2 separate regions of the Homo sapiens genome follow, and region 1 is linked to region 2. The links are contacts of gene promoters, found by promoter capture Hi-C in human tissues and cell types (Jung and others, 2019). All regions are on one chromosome and are shown on one strand. Each heading gives the region's core, a stretch centred on a gene start or on the middle of the fragment in contact. The rest is flanking DNA. Distances are from core to core; before and after follow the strand shown.

Region 1 (2,700 bases), core at 33-2,532, 54 kb after region 2:
AGCTGGGAGGAGAGGAATCTGTAGAAAGCAGAGTCACTTAACTAATTCACCAATGAGACTGCAAACCGATGGTCATGGAGCTGCCATGGGAATCTGAATTACAGTCACTTTTATTCTTTGTATTTTATTGTTTGGATTGAAAATGCGGCCAGGCACGGTGGCTCATGCTTGTAATCCCAGCACTTTGGGAGGCTGGGGTGGGTGGATCACCTGAGATCAGGAGTTTGAGACCAGCCTGACCAACATGGTGAAACCCCGTCTCTACTAAAAATACAAAAATTGGGATTCCATTCCAAGATGGCCAAATAGAAACAGCTCCGGTCTACAGCTCCCAGCGTGATCAACACAGAAAACGGGTGATTTCTGCATTTCCAACTGAGGTATCTTGTTCATCTAATTGGGACTGGTTGGACAGTGGGTGCAGCCCACAGAGGGCAAGCCGAAACAGGGCAGGGCATTGCCTCACCTGGGAAGTGTCAGAGGATTTCCCTTTCCTAGCCAAGGAAGCTGTGACAGACTGTACCTGGAAAACTGGGACACTCTCGCCCACATACTGCACTTTTCCAATGGTCTTAGCAAAGAGCACACCAGGAGATTATATCCTGCACCTGGCTCGGCAGTTCCCACTCCCACAGAGCCTTGCTCACTGCTAGCACAGCAGTCTGAGATTGAACTGTGAGGCAGCAGCCTGGCTGGGGGGGTGGGCATCCAACATTGCTGAGGCTTGAGTAGGTAAACAATGTGGCCAGGGAAGCTCGAACTGGGCAGAGCCCACTGCAGCTCAGCAAGGCCTACTGCCTCTGTAGATTCCACCTCTGGGGGCAGGGTATAGCTGAACAAAAGGCAGCAGAAACTTCTGCAGACTTAAACGTCCCTGTCTGACAGCTCTGAAGAGAGCAGTGGTGCTCCCAGCATGGTGTTTGAGGTCTTAGAATGGACAGACTGCCTCCTCAAGTGGGTCCCTGACCCCCTTGTAGCCTAACTGGGAGACACCTCCCAGTAGGGGCCAACTGACAACTCATACAGGTGGTGCCCCTCTGGGACAAAGCTTCCAGAGGAAGGATCAGGCAGCAATATTTGCTGTTCTGCAATATTTGCTGTTCTGCAGCCTCCACTGGTGATATCCAGGCAAACAGGGTCTGGAGTGGACCTCCAGCAAACTCCAACAGACCTGCAGGTGAGGGATCTGACTGTCAGAAGGAAAACTAACAAACAGAAAGGAATAGCATCAACATCAACAAAAAGGACATCTACACCAAAACTCCATCTGTAGGTCACCAGCATCAAAGACAAAAGGTAGGTAAAACCACAAAGATGGAGAGAAACCAGAGCAGAAAAGCTGAAAATTCTAAAAACCAGAGTGCCTCTTCTCCTCCAAAGGGTTGCAGCTCCTCACGAGCAACGGAAGAAAGCTGGATGGAGAATGACTTTGACGAGCTGACAGAAGTAGGCTTCAGAAGGTCGGTAATAACAAACTTCTCCGAGCTAAAGGAAATGTTCAAACCCATCGCAAGGACGCTAAAAACCTTGAAAAAAGATTAGACGAACAGCTAACTAGAATAAATAGTGTAGAGAAGACCTTAAATGACCTGACGGAGCTGAAAACCACAGCATAAGAGCTACGTGATGCATGCCCAAGCTTCAATAGCCGATTCAATCAAGTGGAAGAAAGGGTATCAGTGATTGAAGATCAAATGAATGAAATAAAGTGATAAGAGAAGTTTAGAGAAAAAAGAGTAAAAAGAAATGAACAAAGCCTCCAAGAGATATGGGACTATGTGAAAAGACCAAATCTACATCTGATTGGTGTACCTGAAAGTGACAGGGAGAATGGAACCAAGTTGGAAAACACTCATCAGGATATTATCCAGGAGAACTTCCCCAACCTAGCAAGGCAGGCCAACATTCAAATTCAGGAAATATAGAGAAAGCCACAAAGATACTCCTCGAGAAGACACATAATTGTCAGATTCACCAAAGTTGAAATGAAGGAAAAAATGTTAAGGGCAGCCAGAGAGAAAGGTCGGGTTACCCACAAAGGGAAGCCCATCAGACTAACAGTGGATCTCTCGGCAGAAACTCTACAAGCCAGAAGAGAGTGGGGGCCAATGTTCAACATTCTTAAAGAAAAGAATTTTCAATCCAGAATTTCATATCCAGCCATACTAAGCTTCACAAGTGAAGGAGAAATAAAATCCTTTACAGACAAGCAAATGCTGAGAGATTTTGTCACCACCAGGCCTGCCCTACGAGAGCTCCTGGAGGAAGCACTAAACATGGAAAGGAACAACCAGTACCAGCCACTGCAAAAACATGCCAAATTGTAAAGACCATCGATGCTAGGAAGAAACTGCATCAACTAACGAGCAAAATAACCAGCTAACATCATAATGACAGGATCAAATTCACACCTAACAATATTAACCTTAAATGTAAATGGGTTAACTGCCCTGATTAAAAGACACAGACTGGCAAATTGGATAGAGTCAAGACCCAACAGTGTGCTGTATTCAGGAGACCCATCTCATGTGCAGAGACACATGTAGGCTCAAAATAAAGGGATGGAGGAAGATCTACCAAGCAAATGGAAAGCAAAAAAAAAGCAGAGGTTACAATCCTAGTCTCTGATAAAACAGACTTTAAACCAACAGAGATCAAAAGAGAGAAAGAAGGCCGTTACATAATGGTAAAGGGATCAAT
Region 2 (2,728 bases), core at 49-2,548:
CATGTTTGTCAGGCTGGTCTCAAACTCCTGACCTCAGGTATTCCACTTGCCTTGGCCTCTCAAAGCACTGGGATTACAGGCATGAGCCACTGTGCCCGGCCTTGGTTACATTTTTATTCAATAAAGTAAACAAAAAAGTTTTTTTTGAGATAGGGTCTTGCTCTATTGTCTAAGCTGGAGTGCAGTGGTGCATTCATAGCTCACTGCAATCCTGACCTCTCAGGCTCAAGCAATCCTCTCATCTCAGCCTCCTGAGTAGCTGGGATTATAGGAATGCATCACTATGCCCAGCTATTTTTGTATTGTTTGTAGAGATGGGGTTTCACCATGCTGCCCAGGCCAGTCTCAAACTTCTGGGCTCAAATGATCCACCCGCATTGGCCTTCCAAAGTGCTGGGATTACAGGCATGAGTCACAGCACCCGGCAAAATTCAATTTTTAGAGCTTACCCTCAACTGTAACCCCTGTTATAAATTTTAAGCCTCTGATGTCACTAAAACAATATCAAAAGATGTTATAAGAGTTAAACCTCATCATGCTTGCAAAATGAATTGGTAAAATATGATGCCATATTCGTATAGAACAATGGTCTCCAACATTTTTGGCACCAGGGTCTGGTTTTGTGGAAGACGGTTTTTCCACAGACAGGAAGGGGGTGCAGGATGGTTTCAGGATGATTCAAGCACATTACATTTATTGTGCACTTTATTTTTATTATTATTACACGATAATATATAATGAAATAATTATACAACTCATCGTAGTGTATGATCAGTGGGTGCCCTAAGCTTGTTTTCCTGTGACTAGATGATCCCATCTGGGGGTGATGGAAGACAGAGACAGATCATCAGGCATTAGATTCTCATAAAGAGCACACAACCTAGATCCTTTGCATGCACAGTTCACAATAGAGTTCTCGCTCCTATGAGAATCTAATGCTGCTACCGATCTGACAGGAGGTGGAGCTCAGGCAGTGATGCAAGCAATGGGGAGCGGCTGTCAATACAGATGAAGCTTCACTCATTTGCCCACCACTCACCTCCTGCTGTGTGGCCTGGTTGCTAACAGGCTACGGACCAGTACTGGTCCATGGCCAGGGGATTGGGGACCCCGGTATAGAACATTAGTTTTTGTTGTTGTTGTTTAATCTAGTTTCTGAGTAAGACAACACAGGTACGTTGTACAGTGAGAACTGATAACGAATATCACTGTTTCATATGTTAAGTTATCTAAAATGCAAATGTTAATTGATAGTGCCTGGTTTTTTGCTTGCTTGTTTGTTTGCTTATTTCTAAAAATGCTTTCAGGAGCTGCTGGCTGTCAGTGTCCCTGTGCTGTTTGTTTTGCGGTGTTGATGGCACATTTATGACAAGAAACGCCAGACCCAACATTGTCCTGCTGATGGCAGATGACCTTGGAGTGGGGGATTTGTGCTGCTACGGTAATAACTCAGTGAGGTAAAGATGGACTCTGACCCCCTCCCTGTATGTGGGAGTCTCCCTTACCACAGTGTTCACGTCTTTGCCGTTGCAGAGAAGGGTTTCTGGAGAGAAGTCATTGTCTGATGTTATCGGCAGGAATAGCAGAGGTCACTGGGGAAAATTGCAAAATGTCAGGAGACCACTTAACCTCCCAGTTTCCTTAGATTCTAGCTGTTGGTGGTGGCGTTTTCATTGTTGGGCAAAATTTACATTTAAAAATTGGCCTTTTTTGATCAGGCATGGCGGCTCAAGCCTATAATCCCAGCACTTTGGAAGGCCAAGGTGGGAGCATTGCTTGAGCCCAGGAGTTTGCGATCAGCCTGGGCAACACAGGGAGACCCCGTCTCTACAAAAATAATAAAAAAAAAAATCTACTGGGACATGGTGGCGTGTGTCTGTGGTCTCAGCTACTCAGGAGGCTGGGGCAGGAGGATTGCCTGAGCAAGGGAGATTGAGGCTGCAGTGAGCTATGATCCCACCACTGCACTCCAGCCTGGGTGACAGAGGGAGACTCTGTTTAAAAAAAAAAAAAAAAATCACCTTTTAACCATTTTAAAGTGAACAATTCAGTGGCATTTGGTACATTCACAGTGTTGGACAACCGTCACCCCCACAAAGAAGACCCCCATTTCCCATCCTATCCCCATGCCCTGTTAACCACAAATGTACCCTCTGTCTCTATGGATGTGTCTCTTCTTAGAATTTCATATACAAGTAATCATATAAAGTATTTATTTTCTCAGGCTGCCGTGACAAAGGTCCACAGACTGGTTGGCTTAGATAACATCAGCTTATTCTCTCACAGTCCTGGAGGCTGGAAGTTCAAGATCAAAGTGTGGGCAGGGCTGGTTCCTCCTGAGGCCTCTCTCCTGTCCTTGTAGATGCCGTCTTCTCCCTGTGTCTTCACAGGGTCGTCCCTCTGTGTGGGTCTGTGTCCTCATCTCTTCTTCTTATGAGGTGTCTTAGTCTATTTCAGGCTGCTATAAAAGAATACCATAGACTGGGTGGCTTAGAAACAACAGACATTGATTCTCCCACAGTCCTGGAGGCTGGAAGTCTGAGATCAAGGTGTCTGCAGGGCTGGTTCCTCCTGAGGCCTCTCTCCTGGGCTTGGAGATGCCGTCTTCTCCCTGTGTCCTCACAGGGTCATCCCTCTGTGTGTGTCTGTGTCCTCATTTCCTCTTCTTATAAAGACCCCAGTCCTATTGGATAAGGGTCCACTTTAACGACCTCATGCTACCTTAATC

The links. The method cuts DNA at HindIII sites, captures the fragments that hold promoters and counts their contacts. A contact is called where the count stands out against the background at its distance.
Region 1: a fragment that was not itself captured here is called in contact with the fragment with the promoter of ARSH in region 2 in 2 of the 25 tissues and cell types used here (pancreas and small bowel).

Annotation. Positions count from the first base shown.
Region 1 is chrX:3,059,035-3,061,734 of GRCh38, forward strand. The region is part of intron 1 of ARSF (arylsulfatase F); the gene reads left to right. Among named protein-coding and RNA genes, the nearest start is that of ARSF, 19 kb to the left of the region's middle. The HindIII fragment of the contact is 3,666 bases long and covers 1-2,700 here.
Region 2 is chrX:3,005,248-3,007,975 of GRCh38, forward strand. ARSH (arylsulfatase family member H) reads left to right here and starts at 1,299. Exons shown (of 9, transcript NM_001011719.2): 1 at 1,299-1,457. The coding sequence starts at 1,366. The HindIII fragment of the contact is 37,610 bases long and covers 1-2,728 here.